Linked DNA regions of Homo sapiens: region 2 is linked to region 1. Evidence: promoter capture Hi-C in human tissues and cell types (Jung and others, 2019). All regions are on one chromosome and are shown on one strand. Each heading gives the region's core, a stretch centred on a gene start or on the middle of the fragment in contact. The rest is flanking DNA. Distances are from core to core; before and after follow the strand shown. Region 1 holds the start of GABRD (gamma-aminobutyric acid type A receptor subunit delta). Region 2 overlaps PRKCZ (protein kinase C zeta).

The links. Contacts are between HindIII fragments. The study calls those that stand out against the background at their distance.
Region 2: a fragment that was not itself captured here is called in contact with the fragment with the promoter of GABRD in region 1 in 4 of the 25 tissues and cell types used here (IMR-90 fibroblasts, dorsolateral prefrontal cortex, mesendoderm cells and 1 more).

Annotation. Positions count from the first base shown.
Region 1 is chr1:2,016,458-2,021,763 of GRCh38, reverse strand. It overlaps GABRD (gamma-aminobutyric acid type A receptor subunit delta), which reads right to left and starts at 2,419. Exons shown (of 9, transcript NM_000815.5): 1 at 2,273-2,419. The coding sequence starts at 2,340. It overlaps LOC105378589 (a long non-coding RNA gene), which reads left to right and starts at 3,676. Exons shown (of 2, transcript XR_001737844.3): 1 at 3,676-5,306. RefSeq lists enhancers at 2,247-2,824, 2,825-3,403. The HindIII fragment of the contact is 31,331 bases long and covers 1-5,306 here.
Region 2 is chr1:2,112,774-2,117,845 of GRCh38, reverse strand. The region is part of intron 4 of PRKCZ (protein kinase C zeta); the gene reads right to left. Among named protein-coding and RNA genes, the nearest start is that of PRKCZ, 65 kb to the right of the region's middle. The HindIII fragment of the contact is 4,407 bases long and covers 746-5,072 here.

The DNA of each region.
Region 1 (5,306 bases), core at 1,170-3,669:
GGCGAAGAGGAGCACCGCCACCAGCGCACCGCGAGCTGGCACGGTAGGAGCCGCAGCACAGCTTCTCCAGGGAGACGGAGGTGCCGGCAGCCCGGGAGGGCCACCCACGCGGGCATGCAGTCGGCAAGCTCGGTGCCTGCCGCGTGCACGGGTCTTCACACTCCGGGCCGACCCACGGCCGCCACGCAGCACACTCCCTTCCTATCCCACCCAGCCTTTCCCATGAGGAGCTGCTGCAATGGGGACCTGGGGTAATGGCCAGAATGGGTCCCACTGACGTCCAATACAGCTCCAGGACAAGGACCCCGAGACTGAGGGAAGGGAGGGCGGCTGTCCTGGTTTCTGGAGTGTAGGGGCACAGATACAGAGAGGCCCTTCATGGACAGCACCCCGCTAAGTCTGAAGGTGGCCCCTAGGGCTGAGTTGGCAGGTGCTTCCACCCTGGGGAGACCCTCCAGGCCTGCCCCTAGACGCCAAGAGCAGGAGGTTGAGCCCAGCACATGTGTGTGGACAGGATGACCTCAAAGGAGAGGCTGCAGCATGCAGCCAGGTGGTAACTGTTTTTAACTAGAGAGCGAAAGGGGAGCTGAGCAAAGCAGTGCACCTCTCACCAGGCAAGGTGTCCTCCCCAACGGCACCCCTCTTCCAGGGATGGGAGTGACTGCAGGCCCAGAGGCCCCCCACTCCTGGCTGGGCCGTGGCCTTCCAGCTTTCCTGCCCAAGGAAACAGGCACAGAATCCCTTCCCCGTCAGCCCAGGAGCCAGATGCAGGCCAGGATTAAGGATCTTCAGATTTTAGAGCAGGGAAATGGTGGACACAGAGGCTGTGGCTGGGGGCGGCCTGAAGAATTTCCCAGCAGGAAGTGTATATAAATAATCCCAGAAGTAGGATTAATAAAGATGAGAAGAGTCTCACGTCCATGCGGGACGGGACTTGCTGCCAACTGAATTCTGGTGTCGAACTTGGGCTAAAACTTTGGGGTTTCAGAGCCGTCTGGATTTCAGCCTCTTGGCTAAGTGGCCGTGGGCCTGGGCTGGCAGCTGTCCCCATGGCTCCAGCACAGCATCCACAACTGTGCCCCGAGCTTCGTCCTTCCTCTCACCTTGAAGGAGGGGAAGGACAAAGGGAGAAAGGCCCACTGGGATTGATGGAAGAACAAAGCTCTTCCCAGGACACGGGCTGCTTAGAGCCAGGGGCAGTGCCGACCCCGCGGTCTCCTGATGGGCACACGGCTGCAGCTGGACCCAGGCCTTCTGGGCTCTGTCCCCCGCACCTCCAATGGGAAAACTCTGACACACCGCCCCGTGTTGGGTGCTGCCATCTCTACTACGGTCAGCCACCTCTATATCTACATCTTCACGGTCTCTGAGATCCTGAATGCTGGGGGATGGCTCTTTGCTGTTTCTTCTGCAGTCTTTGCACTGAGGTGATTTTCAAAGACGCCCCTAAATGTCCTCTCGTGACTCCTAGGGAAGGCGGCCAGCCAGGCCCCGTGGTGGGGCCAAGTTGCCTGGGTGGCTGAGGAGCCCATTTCAGATCCCCAGAGAGGAGATGGGGGGGCACTGTAGGCCAGAGGGGGCTCCAGCCCCGGGGGGCCTCCTTCTCAGCCTCTTCCTTCTCTGGGGAGTCCCTCCCAAAATAGTTAAGAAATCCACCATCTCTTTTCTGTGGCCAGGGGCACCTGGCCGCCGTCCACCTGCACACACTCAGGAGTTCTGCCCACGCCATTTGAAACGGACTCTGAAAGGAGACCCCGGAGGCCGGGCCCACCCTCCACAGCGAGACAGCCTCCTCCGTCCGTCCCAGACCCTCCGGCTGGGGAAGCTCACTGGGGGAACGGGGAACGGCTCCCCCGCAAAGGGAGCAGCCTCCCCGCACCGAGTTCTCAGGTCTTTCCTCTCCTCAAGGCACCCGCCGGGCAGGGACCCGCGAGTGCCGCGGACCCGGGGACCCTCCACGCGCGCCGCGGAGCAGGGGAACCGGGAGGCTCCGACGCCCTCGCCCAGCCCAGGTTCAGCACCAGGACGGCGGACAGCACCGGGCGGGGGCGGCCAGCGCGGGGGTCGCCGCGTCCCGAGCCCAAGGGCAGCGTCCGGGCGAGTCCAACGAGGGGCCCGCGGGGCAAGACCCCGGGGAGGGAGGACGCGGGGCTCTCAGACTTGGGGTCCGGGGCCCGGGGCTCGCGCCGGCCGCTCTCCCAGCCGCTATCTCGGGCCGACGCGGGCCCCCCACCGCCCCCGACCCCGCGCCGCGCGGACCCCGCCCGCTCACCTGGTGCCGCGGAGCTGCTGCGCGCAGAGGAGCAGGAGCGGGGCCAGCAGCCGGGCGGGCGCGTCCATGGCCGCGGCGGGCTCGGGACGGGGTCCGCGCAAACTTGGCTCCCGGCGGCCGCACAGGCGGCACAGGCGGGCGGGAGCTGAGCGAGCGCGGCGCGGGCGCGAGGGGGCGGACGGAGCGCGGAGCCCGCCCCGAGCCCGCCCCAGCCCGCCGCTCCCTGCAGCCCGGCCCCGCCCGCCGCTCCCCTCTCCTCCCCCCGCCCCCCGCCCCATCCCGCCCCCCTCCGCCAGCCGCGCCCCCTCCCTCGCGGGCAGCTCTCCCTGGCCGGGGTCTGGCTCTCCGGGACCGCTGCCCTCACGCGCCGCAGACGGGACCCTCCGGGTGTCTTCATGGGAGGCGACACCGGCACAAGCCCCGCGTGGACACTGTGGCCCACGGGCGCGGCAGAACCTCGTCCCGAGGCGGTTTGTGGGGGGTCGCACGTCTGCGTGGCTGCTTCTGGCTGCGCCGGCGGTGGGTGGGGAGGGGGCCAGTCCCTGCAGCTGTCAGGAGAGAGACCCCCACCAGCGGCTGCTTCCAAAACCCTCCTGCCTTCGCGGGAGCTGGGGCCAGGCGACTTTGGGAGCAAGTCCTGATCCCTGGGGACCCTCGACGGGGGCGGGGAGAGGAAAAGCAGGTGGGGGCTGCGCCGCAGGCCGCAGTTCTGACTCTCCACACCTCTCATGGCCCCAGGCCCGCCCTCCACACCCCTAGGATCTGGGAAAGGGAAGGCCTCACACTCTCCTGCCTTGGATCTTTTGAACATAAAGTTGCGCTGCCATTTCCTGAAGCTGCTCACAAACTTTAATCATTGTTGTGTCAGTTATTCACTTCTGGGCTCGCGATGTCGCTGACAGCACAGTGTCAACCCCTCGTGAAAACACTTAAAAATGGCGAAGCTGTCCCCGAGGCTGCGTGCTTCTGGATGAAGGGCCCTGGCCGCACAGGGGCAGGTGGAGGAAAGTGCAGAGAGGGATTTGCTTCGGAATTTCCAGCCCAATCCCTACTGTGGGAAGTGGAAGAATGAGGCTGGTTCCAGTTTGCTTGCTTTATTTATGTTATGTTATGTTATGTTATGTTATGTTATGTTATGTTATGTTATGTTATGTTATTTTTCGAGATGGAATCTGGCTCTGTTACCCAGGCTGGAGCACAATCTCGGCTCACTGCAACTTCTGCCTCCCAGGTTCAAGCAAGTCTCCTGCCACAGCTTCCCGAGTAGGTGGGATTACAGGCACCTGCCACCACGCTCGGTTATTTTTTTGTATCTTTAGTACAGACGGAATTTCACCATGTTGGCCAGGCTGGTCTCGAACTCCTGACCCCGTGATCCGCCCGCCTCGGCCTCCCAAAGTGCTGGGATTACAGGCGTGAGCCACTGCACCCAGCCCTAGCCTGCTTTCTTAAATCAAGGAACGGGGCTCTAACAAGCCCAACAGGTCTCAACTCCAAGGCCCCCTTCCCGGCTGCTCACTGGCCCCTGCCGAGAGGGGTCCTTTGGGTACAGAAGCACTGACCTCCCTGTGTTCCCGGGGTTCCTGTCCGAGCCTGTGCTCTGCACACGTGCCCCTTCCCACGTGTCCCTTCCATGGATTAATTTAGGAGTTAATTCATGAAGAGGTGCCCAGAGCTTGGCCCGGCCCCCGGTGAGAGGCATTATTTTTATTCTTCCCCCTCCAGAACAGGGGTCTTGTCCGTCTTCTCCTTGGTGGTGTATTGGATGAAGTAGGTGCTCAGCAAATGTAGGAGGAGGTGCAGACTCCACATCTGCAAAGTCCATGCACCCACTGCGGCCAGCACGCCATCACTGCCTCCGGACAGTGCCCCGCCCTCCCTGTCTTTCCTTCCTGAGCTTTGGAACTAAGCAGTGAGAGTGGTTCATGGTCGCAATCCCTTCAATATCTGCGAAGAGCTTATCTGAGGATATCTTGGTGCTGATCACCTCTGAGAAGCAGCGTTGATCTTGACTCACTGGATCCGATTCATTCAGGATAAGCCACACCCTATTGCCATTTTCTTCACGCTCCTCTATTATCTGGGGCATAAAATTAACATTCAATTTTCTTCTTTTTCTTTTAAGAGACAAGGTCTTGCTCTGTGGCCCAGGCTGGAGTGCAGTGGCACGATCTCAGCTCACTGTAGCCTCCACCTCCCGGGTTCAAGGGATCCTTGCACCTCAGCTTCTGGAGGAGCTGGGACCACAGAGGCATGTCACTGCACCCAGATAATTTTCTATTTTTTGTAGAGATGGGGTCTCACTATGTTTCCCAGGCTGGTCTCAAACTCCTGGCCTCAAGGGATCCTCCCCCGTGGCCTCCCAAAGTGCTGAGATTGCAGGCATGAGCCTCCGTGCCCAGCCAATGTTGAACTTTTGCTGGAAAGTCGTGCTGTTGTGTGTATGTCAGTTGAAGCTGGGCGGGCATCTTAGCCAAATATCTGGTGGTTTGGTGGCATCAAATTGTCTCCTCTTCCTTCAGTCCTAGAGGCAAATGCATGTCCCATCCATCATTCACAGGTTTCTGCAAGGTTTGAAGTCTGCACACTTCATTTCCATTCTTTATTGTTCCTAACTGGTCTTTCTTTCTTTCTTTCTTTTTCTTTCTTTCTTTCTTTTTTGTTTTTGAGATGGAGTTTCGCTCTTGTTGCCTAGGCCGGAGGGCAGTGGCACTATCTCAGCTCATTGCAACCTCCACCTCCTGGGTTCAAGCAATTCTCCTGCCTCAGCCTCCCAAGTGGCTGGGATTACAGGCGCCTGCGACCATGCCCAGCTAATTTTTGTATTTTTAGTAGAGACAGGGTTTCACCATGTTGGCCAGGCTGGTCTCGAACTCCTGACCTCAAGTGATCGGCCCACATCGGCCTCCCAAAGTGCTGGGATTACAGGCGTGAGCCACCACACCCGGCCTCCTAACTGATGTTTCAGTTTGGATCTGAAGAACGGGAATTTTCATAATTTCTTTTTCAAGGTTTTTGAGAATTAGTTTGTTGC
Region 2 (5,072 bases), core at 1,700-4,199, 96 kb before region 1:
TCCATAGAATTCATCGTATGAACAGAATAAAGGAGAAAAGTTCTGTCACATCAATAGATGAAGGAAAAAAAGCATCTGAAAAAATTCAGCACCATTCATATTAACAACTTTCAACTAGGAATAAAATAGAACCTCTTTAATTTGTTGGTGGGGATTTACGAAGGAAAAACAGTATTTCCGCAAACAGCACCCTTAATGGTGGAATTCTTAAAGCTTTTCCCTGAAATCAGGCACGAGAGGATGTGGCTGTCACCACTTCTGTCCCATACTGTTTTGGAAGGATCAACAGTGCCAGGGTAACAAGGCAACATCTGAAGGAAAGGCAGAAACAAACAGCCGGTCACTGACAAAATGGCAGCGCACAGAGAGGTTCCGGAGCAACCACAGACAAACTACGGGGACCAGGAGAGGCCAAGACAAATGAGTTAATCACACTTCTTTACACATTGCTATAAACAAAAAGATAAAAAAAAAAAAACTGTAAAAGTAATACGGCTTAAAACAGCATAAGCACTGAAATACCAGGGAATCATTTGAACAAAAAATGTGGATGACCGCTACACACAAGACTACAAAATATTATTGAAAGAATTTAAGGCCGGGTGCAGTGGCTTGCATCTGTAATCCCAGCACCTTAGGAGGCTGAGGCAGAAGGACCACTTGAGCCCAGGAGTTCAAGACCAGCCTGGGCAACATAGGGAGACCCTGTCTCTACAAAAAAATGCCAAAATAGCTGGGCATGGTGGTGCACACCTGTAGTCCCAGCTACTTGGGAGGCTGAGGTGGGAGGATTGCTTGAGCCCAGGAGGTCAAGGCTGCAGTGAGCCATGATCATGCCACTGCACTCCAGCCTGGGCAAGAGTGAGGTCCTGTCTGCCCCCCGCAACTCCCCTGCCAAAAAAACCCCAATCAAAGGCCTAAAGATATGTTCACGGATTGGAAACCTCAGTATTGTAAAGATGCTAATCTCCCATACTGATCAAGAAATCCAAATGCAATCCAAATGTCTTATGGAGATTTTGAAAGCAAATAAGCCAACTGTAAATGGCTTATTAACAAGCCCATGTGTATGGAAATGTAAAAAGCCAATAACCAAGATAACCTTGAAAACTAAAAACCCCAAATTGGAGACTCATAACACAAGTTACCAATGGTGATTATAAAGCAGAAGAAATCAGAACAGTACGACATGGGGGCAAAAAACAAAGGGGACAGATCAGTCCAGAAAGAGGCCCCACACACAGCCAGGACGCAAAAGCCCTAATTATAAAGTAAGCTTTTACTTTCTGTTCATCAGAAGACACCATCCATGGAGTGGAAGGCGAGCCGCGGAGTGACAGAAGCTGTTTGCAACACAAAAAATCAAAGCACTTGTCTCTAAAACACACACAGCCCCCAGGAACCAACAAAAAAGACGGACCCCCCAATGACATTGTTCTTTGACAGCCCAATTTTGAAATGGGGCAAAAGACTGGAACAGGCACCTTTAAAAGGAGGGTCCCCAATAACCCGGGAGCCTCGGAGAAGCAGCTCACCTCAGCCGTCGCGAGGCCACAGCCTAGTGCCTTTCAGATCTGCTGTGCTGGCGACAACGCAGGGCTCTGACAGTCCATGTGCTGGAAGGAGGTGCATCGGGAATTCCCACACGACCCAGAGTGACTGTGCCATCAACACAGATTCAGCCTTTGTCTCAGTTTCCCAGCGCGCAGCCCCTCTGACCCTAGGAATCCTGGAGTGCGGTAAGAGTGTCTTTTTGCATGCTAATGAGATGACGGGGAGCCGGGAGCCGGGACAGCTCCAGGATGCGGCTGGTCTTCAGCAGGACCAAGGAATGCCTAGCGGGTTGGAACTTTCCGTCCCACAGCCCACGGTCCAGAGAGGAGACAGGAGAGACTGAGGTAATCAGCAGTGGCTGGCTGTTGAATCAACCGTGCCTGTCACGAAGCCTCCACAAAAAGCCCTCAATGACATGGTCTGGAGAGTGTCCGAGTTGGTGAATATACCAAGGTGCTGGAGGGTGGCGTGCCTGGAGAGGGCACGGAAGCTCTGCACCCCCCATACCTCAGCCTCCCGTGCAGCTCCTCCGTGTGGCTGTCCTTTCTAATAAACGGGTACACTAAGCAAAGTGTTTTCCTGAGTTCCGGGAGCTATTCTAGCCCACCCGAGCCTCAGGAAGGGGTCACGGACACCCCCGATTCACAGCCAGTTGGTCAGAATCCAGGTTGTCACCTGGCACTTGCAGCTGGCTCTCAAGTAGGGGCAGGCTTGTGGGAATGAGCCCTTCATCTGCAGGGTCTGCGCTAACGTCAGGTAATTGATGTCAGAGCTGAATGGAAACACAGGACACCCAGCTGGCGCCAGAGTGGCTGTGGGTGCAGAAAACCCCACATAACTGGAGGCAGAAACACAGTGCAGAGTGCGACCTGGTGCGGCCACGCGAGGGAAACGTCTGTTTCCCGGAAACTCCACTCCTGGGTGTGCCCACATGAAAGATGCGCCACGGGCAACAGAAGGCGCTCGGATGTCTGTGGCCAAAAGCCGGGACCCCGGTGCCTCGCAAGATGAGGGTGGATACATAAGACGTGGAGAATTCAGCCAGCAGAGCAGCCCCGCAGTGGGGACGGACACGGCAGAACCGCACCCCACACCACGGGAAAGCCCCACACAGGGGCCCGACTGAGCGGCCACACCCAGGGTGGATGGCCCCGGATCCCAAGACAAAAGCTCGAAACAAGCAAAACTATCTGCAGGCACCAAGGCCGGGGACGGGTAGGTTACGCCTGGGGTCACCTCGGGGTGTGGGGGTGGCCCCGCGTCCAGAGGACAAGCTACACACGGATCAGCTATGTGACGCGGTGCAGTTTGCTTTGTAAAAACTCGTGGAGTTGAACGCTTCAGATTTCATGTTTTAGGGAGTTTTGTTTCAATTTTAAAAAGTCAAGAAAGAAAAAGAAATCAGAGAATGGAGGCACCCAGGCCGTAACATTCTTTCCATAAGAAAAGCTGAAACCCAACGGCAGGCGGCTCCACCTGCTGCATCTTAGCTTTTTCTTTTTCTTTTTCTTTTTTTTTTGAGACGGAGTCTCGCTCTGTCACCAGGCTGGAGTGCAGTGGCACGATCTCGGCCCACTGCCACCTCCACCTCCCGGGTTCAAGCGATTCTCCTGCCTCAGCCTCCCGAGCAGCTGGGACTACAGGTGTCCACCACCACACTCGGCTAATTTTTGTATTTTTAGTAGAGACTGGATTTCACCGTGTTAGCCAGGATGGTCTCAAACTCCTGACCTCGTGATCTACCCGCCTCGGCCTCCCAAAGTGCTGGGATTACAGGCGTGAGCCACTGCGCCCAGTCATCTTATCTTTTTCTTCAGCTTATTTTATTTGCTCTGTAAGCTTAACTTTTGTGAGCTGAACTCCAAAGTCAACCTGCTGTTTGATTATTTTTGTGACTTGTTTCAAATAAAACCTCTTCTAAGAATTAATGTCCACCATATTCCTTTTTTGTCCAACAAAATAAGTCATCTCTTCTGTTTCAAATGTTCCTTCCCTCATTGGACACTGTGCTTGGGCTACCTGTATTAACACAGATCCCTGGAGAGCACGTTCTCAACACACAAGACGAACCTGCCCTGCATCCGGGGTCCCTCCTTCCACGTCCTCCCAGGCCACGACGGAGCGTCCTCCTGGAGAAAAGCTGGGGTGGGAGGGTGGGGGGGTGCAGCCCTCTGCTGTTTTTATCTCCTGAGCATTCCGAACGCTTCCACAAACTTACGCAGCCGGCCATACCCTCACCCACGCGCCACACGCACCACACACACAACATGGCGCCCGCTCTCCCTCCCCCAGAGCCAGCCCCGTGGAGCCCTTGACCGGTGGCACCCAATCCCCAGGGCATGGATGCTGTGGGCTGGGCCCCCGCCCTCTCTACACTCCCACACCATCATCTCCCCTCCCTCAAACACATGGGCACTGCGGTCCCTTCTCCCTGCCCCAACACCAGTGCCTTGACCTCCCTCCTCCTTGGCCACACCACCCACCTGCCATCCCTGGAGTCACCCCCACAAGGACTGGACCACAGCCTCTGCCCCATGAGTCCTCTGTGCCCCAACTCTCACCCACCCCCCAGCATTCTCCACGGCAGCTAGGCTGCCATTGGCTCTCAGAGATACCACTACTTCGTGCATCATGAGGAAAGACAAAAAATGTTGCCAACTCAACTGGGACACAGACAGGCAGGCTGCACCCCCTTCCAGGATGTCAGGATAAGAGAAGTCCATCCCAGCTCACTCAAGGCCCTGGTCGCCTCTGACAAAGGGGCTATCGGATGCTGCCTCTGTGCCACTTCCGAGTTTCTGGCTGACACCCTGGTCCTCACCTGCTGGCTTCCACCTGCCCTGGGTCAGGAGCGAACTCGGGCAGAAAATATGAATGCCCCGGATGAGCCCCCCTCAAAGCCCAAGATGGGGAGACATCAGGTAGAAGCAGCAGGAGCACATACTTGGCGATCCACAGGCAGCCCACCGAAGAGAACGTCACAGTCACCACAAATCACTGCTGAAGGCGAGACCAGTGGGGAGGAAACGGGGCGGCTGCCTTTTTAAACCTTACGTTAAAACCTTACATTAAAAAACATACTCATGAATCGAGGTACTCGCTAGTCAGAACTGAGACCCTGGAGGGATCCCCCGGGGCCCTGACTGGTGCTGCAGGCCCTCAGGCAGTGCCCGGCTCCAGAGCAGGAGAGGCAGGCACCTGGGTGACCCGGCCAGCCTCGGCCAGCAGTGGGCAGGCCCTAGCCAAGCCACTGTCTTTCCTTCAGCTGATGACTGTAAGTCACAAATGTAAAGAAAATGGGGCCGGGCGCAGTGGCTCAAGCCTGTAATCCCAGCACTTTGGGAGGCCAAGGCAGGCGGATCGCCTGAGGTCAGGAGTTCGAGACCAGCCTGGCCAACACGGTGAAACCCCGCCTCTACCAAATATAGAAAAAAAATAGCCAGACATGGTGGCGAGCTCCTGTAGTCCCAGCTATTTGGGAGGCTGAGGCAGGAAAATCCCTTGAACCCAGGAGGTGG